5 separate regions of the Homo sapiens genome follow, and all the other regions are linked to region 3. The links are contacts of gene promoters, found by promoter capture Hi-C in blood cells and fetal thymus (Javierre and others, 2016). All regions are on one chromosome and are shown on one strand. The core of a region is centred on a gene start or on the middle of the fragment in contact, and the rest is flanking DNA. Distances in the headings are between cores, read along the strand shown. Region 1 overlaps KIF13A (kinesin family member 13A). Region 2 overlaps KIF13A (kinesin family member 13A). Region 3 holds the start of NHLRC1 (NHL repeat containing E3 ubiquitin protein ligase 1). Region 4 overlaps KIF13A (kinesin family member 13A). Region 5 overlaps KIF13A (kinesin family member 13A).

Region 1 (4,212 bases), core at 145-2,644, 160 kb after region 3:
AGAACTGAGAGTTTTGTTTTTTGTTGTTGTTTTTTTTTTTTTGAGGTGGAGTTTTGCTCTTATTGCCCAGGCTTGAGTGGAATGGCGCGATCTCGGCTCACCACAACCTCCGCCTCCCGGGTTCAAGCGATTCTCCTGCCTCAGCTCCCAAGTAGCTGGTATTACAGGCATGCGCCACCACACCAGGCTAATTTTGTATTTTTAGGAAAGACGAGGTTTCTCCATGTTGGTCAGTCTGGTCTCGAACTCCTGACTTCAGGTGATCCGCCGGCCTCGGCCTCCCAAAGTGCTGGGATTACGGGCGTGAGCCACTGCGCCCAGCCGAACTGATAGCTTTTAATTGAATAAGGAAAGCTACCATTAGATGTCCCTGACTTTCATGTTTATTTTGGGTTAATGTGGAGGTTTAGGAAATATAATTGAAAATAATCAATTCTGCCTGAAGAGGAGTACTCTCTACTTGTTGATACAGAAGGTGTTGAGATCATTTTATTTTAGAGTTGTTTACACTGACTGCCTGTTTCTATCCAGTTTATTTTTCTAAGAATACATTCTTTCCTCTGCTGCTTTCCAACCCTTGACTCTTATGTGTTCCTACAGAGAAACATCTGGTGTTCCGAGAACTTTATTTTTGGTGGCAATGGAATATTTTATAAAACTCTTTTTTTGCATTGCATCTCCCAAACATAATGTAGTGTAAGTAATAAAGAGTAATTTGCAAATGTATTTAAAATGCATTGCTTTGTATGGGCATGGCTATTTTTCATGCAGTCTCTATAACATAGATGAGGCTGTCTCTAGAAGCTCTTATGAAGCTTCAGGCATGATGTCAGTTTTGCTTGTCATTGTATACCTAGCACGGAGTAAACATTGAATGAATGATAAGATGTATGTAGCTCCTTAAACAGTGACCTATATATGACTTACAGTAATTTTTTTATTTAGAGATAAATGACACAGCCTGGGCAAGATAGTGAGACCCCATCTCTACAAAATATAAATTTTAAAAAAAATTAGCCTGGCATGGTGATTACTTGGGAGGCTACTTGGGAGCTACGTGGGAGGCTGAGGCGGGAGGATTGCTTGAGCCTGGAAGATAGAGGTGGCAGTGAGCTATGATTGCACTACTGCACTCTAGCCTGGGCACAGAGTGAGACCCTGTCTCAAAAAAAAAAAAAAAAAAAAAAAGAAAAAGAAAAAGACACACAAATGTTAGCATTGTCAACATGGTTTTATAATTGGATTTTTATGTATTGAATAAGTAGTAGATGAAAATCAGTTTTGCATTCGGATGAATACAACACCTTGACAATGGATTAGATGGAATAAATGGAATTAAAGTATAAGAATAAATCATATAATTGAAATATCACATTGTATATTCAAGGTGAAGATGAAGAAATGGAATAAAACTGTCAAATTTGAAACATGAGGATAGTTGATAAAAGAAGTAAACTGCTGTTCAAATACATATTGTCTTTGCGTGTCACAATTCAAATAACAGCTGTACTACATCTATAGAGAATACTTTTTACTATATATAGCTTCTAAACGAATGTTATAAGCCACAGACTGTGTATTTGCCTATTTATAGATATTTTACTTAGCAATTTCAGTTACTCAGAAGTTTGATGTATCTAACTAGATATAGTCAGATGTGTGCTGTCCAGAACACCATATGCAAACATAAGTATTCTTAAAAAGCAATTGGGAGGAACATTACTGCTGAGAGGAATGGACAGCCAGAGAATATTTTTTAGGGAAGAATTTTTGCAAACCCCTTCAGTATCTTTTGAGGAATTTAGGTTGATTTGATGATCATCTAGCGATAGTAGATGAAATTAATGCCACCAAAGACAAATTGCAATTGATTAGAATGGCTGGTGAGTAAAACCCTCCTTGTGCCTGAGGTATAATTGTGAGTGGCAGCTTAGCAGCTTGTAAAGGCGGGTGTCTATTATATGAGAAGCTTTTTATTTCTGTGTCAGTTTATCAGACTGAAGCTGCTTCAAAAGCAGGGTTTGGTGAGAGCTTTTAGAGACATTTCACCATTGAAAATGTTTTCTGTGACTGTTTCCTAGAGGAAGGCTGGTCTAAACCTCAGGCTGTTCTTTTAAAGTGTTTTGAAAAAGTATGTGAAGTCATTGTCATGTTAAGCTTTATGACAATGTGAAGAGGAAAAACACCAAACAACTCTGTCTGGCCATGAGACACATCATGTCTTTAAATATTGTGATAAGCCTGTGTTTTGCAGAAAACTCAAATTGTGTTTTCCCTCTGCTCTCACACCACAACAAGCAACACAGAAGACTTCTGTGGCCAAATGTCTTGGGGTTTTCCCCCACCAACAAGCAGTGAACACCAGCTGGGTGTCCTCTGATTCAGTTCTGACAGTGTCTACTCAGAGATAGTGTCAGATCCCACGGGTTGAGGGCTCAGTCCCACAAGACTGCCCCCCTGTTTTAAACATCAGTCACAAGTCTGGGCTTCTGGAACTTCTGACCTACCAGCTTCAAGTTGGGGTTTCCAGGACCCCTTCTTTGGGTTTGATTAATTTGCTGGAGAGGCTCACAGAACTCAGGGGAGCACTTATATTTACCAGTTGATTATGAAGGTTATCTTAGAGGATACAAATAAACAGCCAGATGAAGAGATACATAGGGCGAGGTCTGCAAGGGTCCCTATCCCTAGCACAGGAGCTTGTGTCCCTGTGGAGATGGGGTACACCACCCTCCCAGCATGTGAACGAGTTCTTTTTCACTGTCCTGTCTGCTGCCTCCATGTGCTCAGTGATCTGGAAGCTCTCCAAACTTTGTGCTTGAGGGTTTTTATGGAGGTCTTGTTATATAGACATGATTGAATATGGATGGCATAAAAAAGTGGGACCTGGTGCGATGGCTCACACTTGTAATCCCTGCACTTTGAGAGGCCAAGGCGGGCAGATCACTTGAGGTCAGGAGTTCGAGACCAGCCTGGCCAACATGGTGAAACCCTGTCTCTACTAAAAACACAGGAAATTAGCCAGGCATGGTGGTGGGTACCTGCAATCCCAGCTACTTGGGAGGCTGAGGCAGGAGAATCACTTGAACCTGGGAAGCAAGGTTGCAGTGAGCCAAGATTGTACCACTGCACTCCAGCCTAGGCTACAGAGTGAGACTCCGTCTAAAAAAAAAAATGTGATTGAACAGAAAGGTTGTGATCTCATACTAGTAGACTGAGTGGGGAAACTCAGCAAGGCCTGTCTGTGTTAGTTCCTTCTTGGCCTCTCTATGCAGCATTTCTTCCTCCAGAGTATAGAGCAGGACCCTCTCTGGAATGAGGATTTTTTTTTGACCCACAGCCAGATTAGAGGACAGGAGAAGGTCGGCGAGAGAGAATCTATTCCCTGAGGCCTCCTCCTGAGACCTAAAGCACCCCAACATTATAGCAAAGGACTGTAACAAGGGGTATGGGAGTTATGAGCCAGGAACCATGGACAAAAACCAATATATGTCTATCACCATAATATCACAGCCTAACACCACCTTTGCTGCTTAGGCATAACTTGCCTCCCTACCTAGATAGTAAATCTCTTGCATATTGGGTTTGTTTCCATCTTGGTTGCTTTTGCAGTGCTAGGCACAAAGTAGATGATGGACAAGACTGCTAATCAGGGAGGACCACAAACAGGTGGCACTTGGCTGCATGGTTGATGGTCTTTGAAAAAGTGTGCACATGCTGGATTTTTCTGGACCTTCTTTGTAATGGACCTATTGTTGAGTCTAATAACAGAGCAGTAGTTAAAGGCACAGACTCTGGAGCCAGATTGAAAGTAAATCCTAGCCTTTTCACTTATTACTGTGTGATCCTGGATGAGTTACCTGTCCTCTCCATGCCTCAACTTCCTCATTTGTAAATGAGGATGATAATACCTGCATCTTACGGATGTAAGGTTAAATGAGCTACCACTTGATGAGTCCTTAGAACGGAGCCTGGCACTGTGAACCTAAGTCCGTTGCTTTGCTTGCTGTTCACACTCAAAATGCTTGACTGTAGATTTAAAGCAATGTTAATAGACTTTTTAAAAATTGTGCTTAAGATCTGGAAAATATGGCAGTCTTTTCAGGAAAACCTGTATACAAGAATAACAGTCACTATTAGTGTCATCATCTTTAAATATAAAAGACAGTGGTTGATGGGATGCATAAATTTGCATGTATTTAGGCAAAAATG
Region 2 (4,037 bases), core at 1,467-3,966, 200 kb after region 3:
TTGAAAATGTATGTTTCTTAATGCAGTAATTGTGAAGAGGGTCACCCCAATAACCATATATTATCTTTCCGCAAACATGAAGAAAACTAAGCTACCAACCACCAAAAAAAAAAAACCAAACCCAGGGATTCATGCCTGGCAGCCTCCAGGTCTTTGGAACAGGGAAGATGTAATGGAATTTCCTGTTTTAATTGTGAAGACTTACTGAATTCCGGGGGCATTCTTGACCTTCCCGTAGTTGATTAATCTCTCCTAATTGAAGTCTCCTGACTCATCTACTTTATTTTTAAATTTTTATATTTGGAGAGAATCACTGCTTACTTTTTATTTTTATTTTATTGTTATTTATTTATTTATTTATTTATTTATTTATTTAGGGACAGTGTTTCAATCCCATCGCCTAGGCTGGGGTACAGTGGCACAATCTTGGCTCACTGCAGTCTCCACTTCTGTGGCTCAAGCGATTCTCCTGCCTCAGCCTCCTGAGTAACTGGGAATACAGGCACCTGCGACCATGCCTGGCTAATTTTTGTAATTTTTTTGTAGAGACAGGGTTTCGCCATGTTGCCCAGGCTGGTCTTGAACTTCTGAGCTCAAGTGATCCACCTGCCTCAGCCTCCCAAAGTGCTGTGATTAGAGGCGTGAACCACCATGCCTGGCCTTGCTTACTTCTTAAAATTGTGGAATATATATGAAGGTGATAAAACATACGTAAAACATATGTGCAGGCTGGGTGTGGTGGCTCACACCTGTAATCCCAGCACTTTGGGAGGCTGAGGCAAGAGGATCGCTTGAGCCCAGGAGTTTGAGACCAGCCTAGGCAATGTAGTGAGACCCCATCTCTATTTTTTTTTAATTAAAAAAAGAAGAAATATGTACAATTAAAGAATAATAATAGAAATGAATATCCACATACCCTCTATCTAGCTGAAAACACAGATAACCCATGTTTTAGAAGAGTGGACCCAAAGGAGTGTCCTTCTAAATAACCTCACTTTCCTGATTTTTATGGTTATCATTTCTTTCTTTTTTTTTTTTTTTTAAGTTTTTCATTTAACTATTTATCCCCAAGCAATATATTTTTAGTTTTGCCCTTTTTGGTGAATTAATGTAATAGAATCATGTTGAATATATTATTCACGGGCTTGCTTTCTTCTTTCAACATTATTTTTTTCAGATTCATCCACATTGATGTGTGAAACTGTGGTTAATGTCCTTCCACTGCTGTAAACTGTTGCATTGTATGGAGTACCATGGTTTATTTTTCCATCCTCCAGGTTTGTTTCTTCACTGGTGTTTGGAAAACAACATGGACTCCAAACTCCTCAAGTCACCTTGCCACAGATCCCTTGAGTTGGGGGTTGGGAATTTCCAAATTGTTGGCTTTCCTTAGTGGAAATACTAGATGTTCTCATTTCTGGAGACCTTCTAGAGAATGGACTGTGATGGACTTTTGCAGGGGCTGTTAGCTGTTGACCTGAGTCTCCTGGGTCTGGAGTTAAAGCCCTGTGTCTGCAGGATCTTGTCGATGAGCCCTCCCCTGGGGTCACTCCTTCTAGTGACTTGAAATAAGTTAAATTGGACTTGAAGTGAGTTAAATTGTTGTGGGCCCAAAAATGCTTCCAGTGTTGTTAATTAAAAGTTCAATGTATTGTGTTTGATGCCCCTTTTTACCTGATTTAAAAGCTTAAGTTTCTCTTTGGATTAATCAATAAAAGTACTTCTATAAGTAAACTCTGCAGATTTTTTAGTCACTCAACTAATAGGACTTGCAGGAAAAGTGAAATGTCTATAAGCAAAAAACAAAACTTCTACTGGGGGAAGCTTTGGAGCTTTAGGTAGATTGGGGCCAGCCAAGAGCCCAAGTGGTTTAACCAGAAGCAGGCTAGTCTTCAGAGCACAGGACGACACCAAGAGTTTTTGTTCTTCCCACTCTTGGCTTTCCAAGGGCATTCTCCTCCCTTCCTCTCTCCCCACCTTGATTCTCATCAGTTATTGGCAGATGTTCTGTTCTATTGTGTCCTCACTGAGGGAGTCAGTGAAGGGGCACACCCATTGTCTCATTTTAAAATACCCCAATGGAAATGATCAAAGTGCGAATAAAAAGCTCAGCTGTTTGCATTTATTTTCAAATGTAGAAAAACTTTCTGGAAAGATTGTACTAAGGGGTTACTGGCATCATTGTTATGGTCCTCTGACATTTTTAAAAGTAGGTCTCTGAGTATGTTTTTCCTCCTTCATAAAGTGAAGACTGTGAGTCTATTTTTCTGTATTAGCTGGTTATTGTTACTTGAGATTTGTCAGCTTTCCTTGAAGTGTGTTCCCTTGAACTGGATGCTAATGTTTGCCATGCAGGGAAGAATGTCTCTGCAGTAAAATAAAGTTAAATCAGTTTATTTACTGCACAACTTCTCAGTGCACTTGATATGCTACCATGCTTTGGGAATTTTTAAGTTGGGGGCTTATAGAGGCAGGCATTAAAAAACATGTTTGATTATGGGACCCCCTACTCTGAACTACACTAACATTAGTGTGTCTTGCTGCAGTAATCCTTCTCTGAATATCTTTGGGAAAGGTGTCATTTATGTATTTTTCATTGTTTCCATTGGTTCCATTTGCCTAGTAGGCCTCAGGATTGCAGTGGAATTTTTCCAGTACCTTAAGATAGCATTTATCTTGGAGGATATGACCCTTTAAGGGCAAACTTATTTGCAGTTCACTTTCAATTTACAATGTTTATTCTAAGCAATGCATATTACTTTTTTTTTTTTTTTTTTGAGACATAGTCCTGCCCTATCACCCAGGCTGGAGTGCAGTGGTGCAATCTCGGCTCACTGAAGCCTCTTCCTCCCTGGTTCCAGAGATTCTCCTGCCTCAGCCTCCTGGGTAGCTGGGATTACAGGTGCACGCCCCCAGGCCCAGCTAATTTTTGTATTTTTAGTAGAGACAGGGTTTCACCATGATGGCCAGGCTGGTCTCGAACTCCGGACCTCAGGTAATCCACCCACCTCGGCCTCCCAAAGTGCTGGGATTACAGGCGTGAGCCACCGCACCCAGCCGCATATTACTTTTACATGAAAGTAGAGTGAATAGGTAGTTTTGTAAATTGATGAAAAGAATAAGGTCTCAGCTTTGAAAGGATATTCATTGTCCTTGGAATGGTATTCCAGAAAAGTAGGAAGCTAACCAAAAGGCCCAGACCAAAATTTTCTTTTTAATGTCTCAAGCAGAGAAAGATTTTGTGTATAGAAACACTAATGAAAATGATTGTTCTCCTTGATGATTGTAAAAGAAAAAAGTGTTCTTCCTATCCTCTCTCCTTCCCACCTTTCATTTTTGGTAAGTGGGGGAGAAGTGAAGGTGAAGATGCTAGGAATGCTAATTTACCTTGTATTTTTTTTTTAGACATGTTTCATGACAGGTTTGAGGCCTGCTGATTTGGGCATACCCAGTTGCACCTTTTCATTTCGTGCCTCATTGGAGTATGTTTTCTTCTGTTGGTCACTCCTGTTTTCTTGACCTGGACCATGTAATAGAGACTGGGACGAAAACTACATGTAATTACACCCTTTTGGTCAAAACACTAAAACAGAAACCAAGCAAGCTTAATCCTAAATCATTGAAATTGTCTAGAATCTTTATCTAAAATAAATCCTAATCCAACAAAAAATTTTCTTCTAACTCAACCTGCTGCTTATGTCTTCCCTTCCATGAGTATTTTAATAGAAGTTAATTTTTCAGATCACTGGAGCTTATTCCTTCAAACACTGGTCCTGCACTGTTTTGCTGTATTTCTTCACTGTCGTAGCAGAGCCAGAGGCTGCTGGATGTCATCATGAGCATCCATTATTTTCCACATGGTGAAAGGGGCTTGGGTTGCCCTCAGCTTTCACCTCTTGTCACAGTATTGGGCTGCCAGGAGACACCGTTCGGCTGCCACCCTGTCTCACAGCCCTGCTTGTTAGCTGTCGTATCTGCTGTGTGTGCTGGAAAACTAGATAATAGAACAGGTCAAATCAGGGTAGGTAAAGCAGCCA
Region 3 (4,333 bases), core at 1,834-4,333:
GGTATGGCTGTCTTAGGGGTACAGGCAGGGAGCTGTCAGCTTATAACTGGTCATTTAAACCACGAGGAAGTGAAGATGGCATTGCTCAGGGAAACAGGTAGGAAGCTAAGAGAAAAAGACTGAAGGTGGCACCCTGAGGAACACTCAATTGCATTGAACTTGAGATGCACTCAAATCTCTAGATCCCCATTTCCAAACATACATCTCCACTCATTTTTGTATGGACTTACTCAAAAAATTCAAAAACAGCCATTCTTCCTCTTGCCACCACATCCCTCACCCCTGAGATGCCAAGAACATGGAGCTTAAAAATTAGAGTGGTGGTCAGAGACGCCCCTGGGAGGAGGGCAAGGCTGGAAGCAAAGCCCATTCTGTGTGGCTTGTTCATCTTCCTTTCCCTTACATCATTGTCAGGTAGTCTGAGTTGTAATTGGATCATTAAACTTGTTCTGGGATTCCTTCTAAACTGCATGTGTCTGGCACATTTGCCCCACCTGCACAACCAGGAGCCCACCTGTCTAAGCACTGACTCCCCCTAACTCATGCTCCCCCTGTGCTCTCTTCTCTGCTGGAACCATCCTGAGCTGGGTCCCCACTCTCCTTCCACTATAGTATGGTACTTTTTCATAGGGCAGCCATTGACCACTTTGGAAACTAGACGTTCTGCTCTTCAAGCCCTTTGCCCCCACAACTCTCAGGGCTTGTTCTAGGTGGAAGCAGGAAAAGATGGGCATGCTAGTCCAGGACCCTCTATAGAAGGAATATCGGAGGGAAGCACAGGGTAAATCCATGGAGGCCCAGCCATGGAGGAGGAAATGATAGTCATAGGAAATGCCAAATGTCAGAGTGAGATTCAAGACATATTTGTTATTAATCAATTATGCAATGGTGTGATTGCATAAATAATGTGATTTTAGTTGGTTGTTTATTTGGGATGGAAATGTAGTCAGAAATTATTAAGTTGGTTATTGTGTCCCAGTACGCAATCTTTGAGTCAAATGACATTTGATTAGAAAATGTTCTTTCTTGTCTTACATTAAAGCTCTTTCCAGGGGCCTCAACAGGGGATAAAATATTGTGTTTTCTCAGAAATCTAGCAAATCAGAAGGTGAATGTTCATGATTATGATCTCTAAAGGAAAAGAAATTCTCTAATACAAGGTTTTGTTAAGCACAATGTTCACATAAGACATTTGAGGGAGAACCCCTTAAAAATAAGAGTTTAGGGCCAGGCACGGTGGCTCATGCCTGTAATCCTAGCACTTTGGGAGGCTGACGCGAAAGGTCAGAAGTTTGAGACCAGCCTGGCCAACATGGTGAAACCTCATCTCTACTAAAAATACAAAACTTAGCCAGGCATGGTCACGGGTGCCTGTAATCCCAGCTACTCAGGAGGCTGAGGTGGGAGAACCGCCTGAACCCAGGAGGTGGAGGCTGCAGTGAGCCGAGATCGCGCCACTGCACTCCAGCCTGGTGACAGAGCAAGACTCTGTCTCAAAAAGAAAAAAAAAAAAAAGAAAGAAAAAGAAAAATGAGAGATTATAATACCACAATGGATTCTTCACACAGATTATGCTATCCCTTGTTTGAAGATTTTCCAACATATGGCAAATTCTCTTTGTTTTTGGTCTTAACTGAGATTGGAAAAACTGAACTTAGTGTCATTTGAGGGAATTATTATAATGCAGTGTTTCTCAAACTTGGCTGTACATTATAATCACCTGGGGAGCTTTTATAAATCCCAGCTGTCCAGACCACACCATGGGCCAATTAAACTTTTCGGGTGCGACCCAGGTGTTTACCATGTGCAAAGAAGTTTGAAAATGACTAAAATAGGTAACTCTGAAGTCAAACTGCCTGGCTTCAAATTCCAGGCCAGCCACTTCCTAGCCATGTGACCCTGGGCAAGATATTTGATTTCTATGAATTCTATCAGAAAAAAAGACAATAAAAATAACATATTTTTGTAGGATTGCTATGAGGTTTAAACAAGATAATCTATGTAAATTATTTATTAATTTGCTGCAAAAGTAATCACGGTTTTGCCATTAAAAGTGATGGCAAACACTGCGAATCCTTTTCACCAACCTAACACAATGGGGCAGGCATATGTGAATTCCATAGGCTGGGCACAGTGGCTCACACCAGCACTTTGGGAGGCCAAGGGGTGGGGAGGAATGTGAACAATTTTCACAAGTTCAAGACCAGCCTAGGCAACATAGTGAGACCTCCTCTCTACAAAAAAATTAAAAAATTAGCCTAGTGTGATGGTGCATGCCTGTAGTCCCAGCTACTGAAGTGGGAGGATTGCTTGAGCCTGGGAGATGGAGGCTGCAGTGAGCTGTGATCGTGCCCCTGCACTCCAGCCTGGGTGACAGAGTGAGACTTTGTCTTAAAAAACAAAAAAATGAAGTTCTATGGTAATTATTATTAACTAACAGCTTTCTTATTTCATATTAATTACTCTGCAAGACACTTCCAGCATGGTTGCCCCATCTGACACTCATTCACCTCGTTGATTTTTTTTTGTTGTTGTTGTTGTTCTATAACATTCATTCATGCACAAATTCATTTTACAAGTATGTATTCATCTAACATTGACTTAACTATGAGTATGACAGAAGACACAAAAGAAATGTACACATCTGCCTCACCTCCCTTGGAGTTTATCTTCTCTAGTGTGTTCGTGTTTTCCGGTTCAGATCATAAGCATCATGAGCTAAGGGACCATGTTTTATGCCCGGACAGCCGTAGCACCCGGCGCTGCGGATTGGAGACACTGCTAGGCACCCGGGCTGGAAGATTGGGTTCTAGTTCTTGTTTTGCCGCTTACAGGCTGGGTGACAGGGAGCAATCCTGTTGTCCTCAATAGGTGTGTTTCCTCATCTGAAAGTGTACACAATCCATCCATGACTGCTGTGACGATTACAGGTCTACACAACGCGCATGTGGATTTGTCTTGCAAACGTCCACCATCAGGCCCTCAGGAAACAGTGCCGCGCGTGCCCACCAAGGGGCAGCAGATCGCAGTGCAGAGGCCCGCGGCGCTCGACGTCAGGGCGCACGTCCCACCCCGTGACCATGACTGTGACCGTGACCGAGAGCGTCGCTGGGGCACGGCCAGGCGGCGCGGCGGGAGTGCACAGGACGCGCCATGGCGGCCGAAGCCTCGGAGAGCGGGCCAGCGCTGCATGAGCTCATGCGCGAGGCGGAGATCAGCCTGCTCGAGTGCAAGGTGTGCTTTGAGAAGTTTGGCCACCGGCAGCAGCGGCGCCCGCGCAACCTGTCCTGCGGCCACGTGGTCTGCCTGGCCTGCGTGGCCGCCCTGGCGCACCCGCGCACTCTGGCCCTCGAGTGCCCATTCTGCAGGCGAGCTTGCCGGGGCTGCGACACCAGCGACTGCCTGCCGGTGCTGCACCTCATAGAGCTCCTGGGCTCAGCGCTTCGCCAGTCCCCGGCCGCCCATCGCGCCGCCCCCAGCGCCCCCGGAGCCCTCACCTGCCACCACACCTTCGGCGGCTGGGGGACCCTGGTCAACCCCACCGGACTGGCGCTTTGTCCCAAGACGGGGCGTGTCGTGGTGGTGCACGACGGCAGGAGGCGTGTCAAGATTTTTGACTCAGGGGGAGGATGCGCGCATCAGTTTGGAGAGAAGGGGGACGCTGCCCAAGACATTAGGTACCCTGTGGATGTCACCATCACCAACGACTGCCATGTGGTTGTCACTGACGCCGGCGATCGCTCCATCAAAGTGTTTGATTTTTTTGGCCAGATCAAGCTTGTCATTGGAGGCCAATTCTCCTTACCTTGGGGTGTGGAGACCACCCCTCAGAATGGGATTGTGGTAACTGATGCGGAGGCAGGGTCCCTGCACCTCCTGGACGTCGACTTCGCGGAAGGGGTCCTTCGGAGAACTGAAAGGTTGCAAGCTCATCTGTGCAATCCCCGAGGGGTGGCAGTGTCTTGGCTCACCGGGGCCATTGCGGTCCTGGAGCACCCCCTGGCCCTGGGGACTGGGGTTTGCAGCACCAGGGTGAAAGTGTTTAGCTCAAGTATGCAGCTTGTCGGCCAAGTGGATACCTTTGGGCTGAGCCTCTACTTTCCCTCCAAAATAACTGCCTCCGCTGTGACCTTTGATCACCAGGGAAATGTGATTGTTGCAGATACATCTGGTCCAGCTATCCTTTGCTTAGGAAAACCTGAGGAGTTTCCAGTACCGAAGCCCATGGTCACTCATGGTCTTTCGCATCCTGTGGCTCTTACCTTCACCAAGGAGAATTCTCTTCTTGTGCTGGACACAGCATCTCATTCTATAAAAGTCTATAAAGTTGACT
Region 4 (4,094 bases), core at 1,418-3,917, 250 kb after region 3:
TCCCTTCACCTCACTGGGAGCTTCATAAGGGACATGAATAATATAAGTATTACTACAGATAATGCAAGTAATAGGATACTCATGAGCTCCACGAGTCTTTGCATGTTTTTTGACTGCTATAATTCTAGCGCTTAGCACACAATAGGTACTCAATAAATATTTGTGAATGGATAAGTGAATTAATGAATTAGATGGCTACTACTAGGCCTGATTTGTAGTCATGCTCAGTAAATACTGACTGCAAATTTTTTTAGTGCAGAAACCAGAAGTTATTGAAAGCAGCACAGAATGAGGTTGAAAACCAAAGGTTCTTGGTGGGAGGATTTTTTTTTTCTTAATATTTAGGATGACGCATGTCACTGAAATTCACCATGGATCAAGCTTGGGCACAGTGCCCGGGATATAAGAAGGAGAGCGGTAAAGATACTTCAAAAAAAACAAAAAGAAAAGAAAAGAAAGGAAAATAGCCTCTATTGGCTGTTTAAAGTAAGGAGAGTTGACTTAGGTCAAAAGAAAAGGGAAATGTCCTGGAAATAAAAGTTAAGTATTATAAGATGCCATTAAAGGGAGTTTGTGGAATCTCCTTTTCTGGAGATGTTTAAAAACAAGATAGATCATCATCTCTTAGAAGTGTTGAAGTTCAGTCCTACCCAGAGGCAGGAAGATTAACTGGATTACGCCTGTGTGGTCGGTCTCTAGAGTCATTGGAAGAGCCCTTGAATGCAGTAAATATTCCACATTCTCTTGGCTGAAACTATTGTTTCATAACTGTTCATTTGAAACTTGGTTATTATAAAACCAGAGTGAATGTTTGTTTAAGTAACAAAATTGAATTTGGATCTCGGGTTGATGATGTAAGTTGAGTACATCATATATACCTAAATCAGTTTTAAAAACATTAAAATAAAGTATATATAGTGCTGAAACTATTCAGAACATAACTTAGTCTTTTTTTTTTTTTTTTTTTGGCAAGAGAGAGAGAACATTGCGTATAACTTACTAGTCTTTTATAATGTAAAAAAATGCCTGTTTCCCTGCGAGATCTTAATGCCATTAAGTACATCAATAAGTAATTATAAAGTGACTACTATAAACATTGCAGGCTTCAAAGATGAATTCGATATGGATCCTGCTTTCAGGGAACTTAGTCTACAAGTGGAGATGAAACATATATACAGGCCGGGCACAGTGGCTCATGCCTGTAATCCCAGCACTTTGGGAAGCCAAGGTGGGAGGATTGCTTGAACCCAAGAGTTTGATACCAGTCTGGGCAACATGGCGAAGTCCCATCTCTACAAAAAACACAAAAATTAGTTGGGCATGGTGGCATGTGCCTGTAGTCCCAGCTACTCAGGAGGCTGAGGAGGTAGGATCAATTGAGCTGATTGAGGCTGCAGTGAGCCATGATAGTGCCAGTGCACTCCAGTCTGGGCAACAGAGGGAGACCCTGTCTCTGAATGAATGAATGAATGAATGAATGAATGAATGCTGTCTCACACACACAGATCATATACATGATAAATGAAAAATAAAATAATTGAGATAGGAGCCATAAAAAAGGACTAAACAGTGTTGTAAGGTTTCAGAGAAAGAAAAGATGATTCCTTTGGATTTAACCAAGAATGCTTCTGGGAGGAAAAATGTATCGAACTGGGCCTTAAGGGGTATGACGTATTTTGAAGGGTGGAAATGAAGGAGAGAACAAGGACAGAGATGAAATTATACTTAGTAATTCTGAGGTAAGGACAAGTTCCACTGGAGCATGAGGAATTTGGGGTTAATAGGCTGGGAGGGCCTATTGTGGCTAGTCTCAAATGCCAGGCCAAAGAGCATGGGTTCTGTATGCTCAGTGCTTAAGATCTCTTGGAAGTGATTAAGCATTAAAGGATCCTGCCCATGGGAGGTTTGTAATTTGCTGTTTGGACTGCAAGAGATAAAGGGCAATAGCAGTGAGCCCAGGAAGGTAGCTGCTGAGTCACCTGGGCTGCATTTGCTAAGGGATATGCTGAGAAGTAGTAGTTCCAAGGCATGTTAATAAGTGTTAGTCCAAAAAGGGTCTCCTCACCAAAATGAATTGGGGAAATAAAATGTTAAACAATCAAATAGGCTTCTTTCCTGGACTTCATTTCTGAAAAGTCTCTGGAAGACTTTTTAGAGCCTTTAATATTGAGAATTTCATTGAGAATCTCAAATAGGATAAAACGTGCACCACTTCCAACATGATTTGGTCTTTTTTCATGGAGTAGCTCATGAAACTCTGGTTCCTTAGAACACACTTTGGGGAACATTGCTCTACACATTTGATAATAACAGCTGGAACACAAGTGGTGGTAATGGGCATGAAAAACAGCAGTTAGGGCCAGGCATGGTGGCTCACGCCTGTAATCTCAGCACTTTGGGAGGCTGAGGCAGGCAGATCATTTGAGGTCAGGAGTTTGAGTCCACCCTGGCCAACATGGTGAGACCTCGTCTCTACTAAAAATACAAAAATTAGCTGGGCATAGTGGTGCGTGCCTGTAGTCCCAGCTACTTGGGAGGCTGAGGCAGGAGAATTGCTTGAACCCAGGAGGCAGAGGCTGCAGTGAGCTGAGATCATGCCACTGCACTGCAGCCTGGGTGACAGAGTGAGACTCTGTCTCAAAAAAAAAAAAAAAAGGAAAAGAAAAAACAGCAGTTTGATGGGAGTCCTTACAGGGGAAGCACCAAGAAGCACCAGCCATTCCCGGTATATAGTAGGCATTCAGTAGCTATACAGAAAGTTAATTCATGTAAAAGTGAATTAATGATTTCATACCAGTAGATGTTGGTGTGGATGCGGTCAACAGGGAACACTTTTACATTGCTAGTGGAAATGTAAACTAGTACAACCACTATGGAAAACAGTGTGGAGATTCCTTAAAGAACTAAAAGTAGAACTACCATCTGATCCAACAATCCCACTCCTGGGTATCTATCCAGAGGAAAATAAGTCATTATACGAAAAAGATACTTGCACATGCATGTTTATAGTGGCACAGTTCACAATCGCAAAATCGTGGAACCAACCCAAATGTCCATCAGTCAACAAGTGGATAAAGGAACCATGCTGTGTGTGTGTGTGTGTGTGTGCGTGCGTGTGCGTGTGTGTGTGTGTGGTGGAATACTACTTAGCCATAAAAAGGAATGAATTAACGGCATTTGCAGCGACCTGCATGAGATTGGAGACTATTGTTCTAAATGAAGTAATTCAGGAATGGAAAACCAAACGTTGTATGTCCTCACTGATATGTGGGAGCTAAGCTATGAGGACAGAAAGGCATAAGAATGATACAGGGGAGTTTGGGGATTTGAGGGGAAGAGTGGGAGAGGGGCGAGGGATAAAAGACTACAAATATGATGCAGTGTACACTGCTCAGGTGATGGGTGCACCAAAATCTCACAAATCACCACTAAAGAACTAACTCATGTAACCAAATACCACCTGTACCCCAATAACTTATAGAAAAATAAAAAAAGATAAAACATGAAATTAGCCAGGCATGGTGGCGAGCACCTGTAGTCCCAGCTACCCAGGAGGCTGAAGGCAGGAGAATTACTTGAGCCCGGGAGGCAGAGGTTGCGGTGAGCCGAGATCGCACCACTGCACTCCAGCCTGGGCAACAAAGCGAGACTCCAACTCAAAAAAAATTAAAATTTAAAAAATATGAAGAGATACTTTTACATGTAAAAGACATGCCAAATACTAAACATGTAAAATTGCTAAACATGTAAAGTTGCTTCACATCTTTACTTTTCGAGGAATTGTATATTAAAAATACAGTAAGAACCCCCCCCACCACCACCAAAAAACAAAAACAAAAACAAAAACATGCTTTGCTGGAGATTGCCTGCAGAGACAGAAGGGGAAAGGAGTGCAGGATGGGAATATGGAGAGTTTTGAACTTCAGTATGCTACAGATGATATCATGGAAAGCTAGGAGAAGGAACTGCTTTATATGAAAGTTGAGTATTGAGAAGCTGAGGGAGATCGACCTGGAAGGTTCCATGGTTGCTGAAACCATGGACTTGCGAGAGAAGATATTGTTTTTGTTTTTTGTGTTTTCTCATCAGATGTA
Region 5 (4,048 bases), core at 481-2,980, 180 kb after region 3:
CTTTTCTGCTTTGTGTTGGGTAGATGCAGAAAAGTTATAAGCATCAACTTAATGTGGTTGAGGCTTTCTGAACTGATCTCCATTTAACCAGTTCACTGCATTAACTGGTGTTCTCAACTCCTTCTATGACATAAGTCAACTGATGCTCATGCTGGGTGGGTTCGTTGACCATGGACATCCCAGTTGCATGCCACGCACTTCCACGCCTCCCCGTTGAGTTGTAAATTACCAAAACCAGTAGTATTTGGCTTTATAGAGTTTAGTTATTATGTAAATTGATATTATATGAACAGAAAAAATGTGCTTTCTGTGGAAGACAGAATCAGTGAAAGTGAATTCTCAAAATGTGCTTCCCAGATCAGCAGCATCAGAGTCCTCTTGAAACCTGTTAAAAATGCACATTCTCAGCCTCCACTCTAGACCTGTTATATCAGAAACTTGGCTGGGTGCGGTGGTTCACACCTGTAATCCCAGCACTTTGGGAGGCCGAGGCAGGTGGATCACCTGAGGTCAGGAGTTCGAGACCAGGCTGGCCAACATGGTGAAACCCTGTCTCTACTAAAAATACAAAAAAAAAAAAAAAAAAATCTGTGTTTTACCAAACTTTCCAGGTGATTCTGAAGCTTACTAACATTGGAGAATCACTTTCTAAAAAATACTGCCATCGAATTAAACACAGGAGAGAGAGGGATTATAAAAATAGAAGAGGTTTCTATACTCAGATTGTTTTTCAGTGACCAGTTCTTTATTCTCCTTAAAGAAACAGACATTGAAAATTCATAATGCATCATGGTGTAGTTTACATAGAAAAACAACCAGAACTCCATTCAGCAGACCATTCTCAAGGAAATGTACTTTGTGTCAGTCTAAAGATTGCAGAATGAACGAACTTTTAAATACTTTAAGTTAATGTAAAAACGTTTAAAGGTATAAGTACCCATTTTTATGATTCTCTGCTTTAATCTACTCTTTTTTTTGTTTTTTGTTTTTGTTTTTGTTTTTGTTTTTTGAGACAGAGTCTCACTCTGTCGGCCAGCCTGGAGTGTAGTGGCACAATCTTGGCTCACTGCAACCTCCATCTCCCAGGCTCAAGCAGTTCTCCTTCCTCAGCCTCCCGAGTAGCTGGGATTACAGGCGTGTTGACACCACGCCCAGCTAATTTTTGTATTTTTAGTAGAGATGGGGTTTCACCATGTTGGCCAGGCTGGTCTCGAACTCCTGACCTCAGGGTATCTACCTGCCTTGGCCTCGTAAAGTGCTGAGATTACAGGCGTGAGCCACTGCGCCCGGCCTAATCTACTCTTTAAACTCATTGTCCAGCTAGCCAAGCCTGTTTATAAGAGAGGAGGACTTTGACTATATTTGATAAATATAATAGCCAAGGCTGATAGGCACCCAGATATGCTGGAAGAGCTGTCAGCCAGTGTCTGTTATGAAATGTATTTCTGTTATGAAATGTATCTCATTTAATACTTGCTGCAACTTTATGAGGTAGGTACCCATTTTGCAGATGGGAGGGAGTGAAATTTGGAAATTATACAGCTAATTCAATGACAACACCAGAATTTAAACCTAGGCAGGCTTCAGATTGTTCTGGTGTGGCAAAGTCTAAATTTCAATGAACAGAAATATATATATATATATATATATATTTGTTGTTGTTGTTCTTGTTGTGTTTTGTTTCTTCAAGACAGGTCTCACTGTGTCACCCAGGTTGGAGTGCAGTGGCATGATCATGGTTCACTGCAATCTGGACTTCCTGGGCTCAAGTAATCCTCCTACCTCAGCCTCCCGAGTAGCTGGGACTATAGGTGTATGCCACCACGCCTGGCTAATTTTTGTGTTTTTTTATAGAGATGAGGTTTTGCCATGTTGTCCAGGCTGGTCTTGAACTCTTGGCGCTGAAGCAGTTTCCACCTCAGCCTCCCAAAATGCTTGGATTAGAGGTGTGAGCCACCACACCCAGCAGAAATATATATGTTGATATAGAATATTTTGCATTGGGTATTCAGAGAACAAGTTAATTTGACAGCTGTGGTGAGGCCTTCTAACACTCACCGTAAACTTTCCTATGTCCCAAAGTATCTCTAATAATAACGTTAATAATTAATAGTATATACAACCCATCCTTTTCTGAAGGAAAGTTCAGAACTTTCTTTAGAACATCTACTGTGAATTGGGAACCAAAAAAAAAAAAAGCAAATGTATTGGTATTGCTAGGGTTACCATAGCATAGTACCACAGACTGGGTGCCTTCAACATGGGTACCCATGTTGAAGGTTGAATATTTTCTCACTACCCTGGAGGCTGGAAGTCCGAGATCAAGGTGTGGGCAGGTTTGGTTTCCTCTGAGACTTCTCTCCTTGGCTTGTAGATGACTGTCTTCTCCCTGCGTCTTCTCATTGTCTTCCTTCTCTGTGTGTCTCTGTCCGGATTTCCTTGCTTATAAAGACACCAGTCATAATGCATTAGGTCCCATTGTAATGACATCATTTTAACTTTAACCTTTTTCAAGCTCCTATCTCCAGATGTCGCATTCTGAGGTACTGAGGGTTAAGGCTTCAATATGGAAATTTAGGGTGTGGGGACATGATTCCATTCATAACAATAGCTAAGATGCTTTTAGATATTTAGAGCTTCTCCCAAAGGTTGAGATCTTTGATTTTGATTTGAGATTTGAAAAACCTTGACTTTACTCTTTGATATAATTAGGGCAGAGTTCATAGCACCAGGCTATTTTAAATCCAGGTGACAGCAGCTTCTTAGTGGGTTTTAGGAGGGTAATATATTTGGGTAGCAGAATGGATTCTACCCTTCAAATACCAGTTAAAGCTTCTTTGATGATTTAGAATTACATATGTTGGGCCAGGTGCAATGGCTCACGCCTGTAATCCCAGCACTTTGGGAGGCCCAGGCAGGCGGATCACCTGAGGTCAGGAGTTCGAGACCAGCCTGATCAACATGGAGAAACCCTGTCTCTACTAAAAATACAAAATTAGCCAGGCATGATGGTGCATGCCTGTAATCCCAGCTACTTGGGAGGCTGAGGCAAGAGAATCACTTGAACCCAGGAGGCAGAGGTTGTGGTGAGCCGAGATTGCGCCATTGCACTCCAGCCTGGGCAACAGAGCCAAATTCTGTCTCAAAAAAAAAAAAAAAAAAAAAAAAAATAAATTTACATGTGTTAAGTCCTAACTAATTAAAAAGTTTGTCATAAAAAATTCTAACTACAGGAATTCTTGTTATGGGGGAAAATGTGTAACACTTGAAATGCAAATAATCTTCTTTTATATCAAGCTAATTATGCAGCCATTAGTTCAAGCCCTGCCTTCTGCTGTCTTTTATATATAGCTCTCCTGTGAGGTCTCTTCCTGAAAACTCTTCACTGGTCTGGTAAGGGGAACAGGGAATTCTCTCTTAACTCTGCTGCTGCCTCTTGAAAGAAGGAAACAATGACTGGAAAGATAAAATATGCTCTATCTGTGGTTGATTTTTGACCCCTAATTAGGTTTCATCTGTAGGTTCACTAACAGCGTTTTCCTACCATATGTAAAATTAAACAGTAATGCTTTCTCCATAACTTAATTTGCATGCTCGAATCCCTTGTGGATCAGCAGCATTAGCACACCCTGGGAGCTCATTAGAAATGCAGAAGCTCAGGACCCACCACGGATTTACAGAATCGAAGAATCTGCGCTTAATAGTGTTCCTGAAGCATCCGTATACATATTGAAGTTTAAGAAGCATTGTGCTGATGTACCTTCAAAACAGTGTTCCAAAAGAAGAAGAGGAAGAGGAGGAAAAAGGAGGAGGAGGAGGAGGAAAGGAAAGAAGGAAGGAAGGAAGGAAGGAACTTCCATATAGAGTAAATTCCCGATGTTGCCATGGCATTTGTAAATTGTCATGGTGGGTGAGACTATCTTTTTTTTTTTTTTTTTTAATTTATGAGACGGAGTCTCGCTCTGTCTCCCAGGCTGGAGTGTGTAGTGGCGCGATCTCGGCTCACTGCAAGCTCCGCCTCCCAGGTTCACGCCATTCTCCTGCCTCA

What was found. The method cuts DNA at HindIII sites, captures the fragments that hold promoters and counts their contacts. A CHiCAGO score of 5 or more calls a contact.
Region 1: a fragment that was not itself captured here is called in contact with the fragment with the promoter of NHLRC1 in region 3 in 4 of 17 cell types (megakaryocytes, M1 macrophages, erythroblasts and 1 more); the score reaches 9.3 in megakaryocytes.
Region 2: a contact is called between a fragment that was not itself captured here and the fragment with the promoter of NHLRC1 in region 3, in 8 of 17 cell types (M1 macrophages, M2 macrophages, monocytes and 5 more). The highest score is 8.2, in M1 macrophages.
Region 4: a contact is called between a fragment that was not itself captured here and the fragment with the promoter of NHLRC1 in region 3, in 7 of 17 cell types (M2 macrophages, M1 macrophages, megakaryocytes and 4 more). The highest score is 10.6, in M2 macrophages.
Region 5: a contact is called between a fragment that was not itself captured here and the fragment with the promoter of NHLRC1 in region 3, in 6 of 17 cell types (megakaryocytes, M2 macrophages, M1 macrophages and 3 more). The highest score is 8.2, in megakaryocytes.

Annotation. Positions count from the first base shown.
Region 1 is chr6:17,955,853-17,960,064 of GRCh38, reverse strand. The region is part of intron 2 of KIF13A (kinesin family member 13A); the gene reads left to right. Among named protein-coding and RNA genes, the nearest start is that of KIF13A, 30 kb to the left of the region's middle. The HindIII fragment of the contact is 1,154 bases long and covers 818-1,971 here.
Region 2 is chr6:17,919,614-17,923,650 of GRCh38, reverse strand. The region is part of intron 2 of KIF13A (kinesin family member 13A); the gene reads left to right. Among named protein-coding and RNA genes, the nearest start is that of KIF13A, 66 kb to the left of the region's middle. The HindIII fragment of the contact is 1,780 bases long and covers 1,827-3,606 here.
Region 3 is chr6:18,121,427-18,125,759 of GRCh38, reverse strand. NHLRC1 (NHL repeat containing E3 ubiquitin protein ligase 1) reads left to right here and starts at 3,083. Exons shown (of 1, transcript NM_198586.3): 1 at 3,083-4,333. The coding sequence starts at 3,154. The HindIII fragment of the contact is 6,107 bases long and covers 1-3,779 here.
Region 4 is chr6:17,874,018-17,878,111 of GRCh38, reverse strand. All of the region lies in intron 3 of KIF13A (kinesin family member 13A), which reads left to right. Among named protein-coding and RNA genes, the nearest start is that of KIF13A, 110 kb to the left of the region's middle. The HindIII fragment of the contact is 4,568 bases long and covers 384-4,094 here.
Region 5 is chr6:17,939,940-17,943,987 of GRCh38, reverse strand. All of the region lies in intron 2 of KIF13A (kinesin family member 13A), which reads left to right. Among named protein-coding and RNA genes, the nearest start is that of KIF13A, 46 kb to the left of the region's middle. RefSeq lists an enhancer at 3,551-4,048. The HindIII fragment of the contact is 2,209 bases long and covers 626-2,834 here.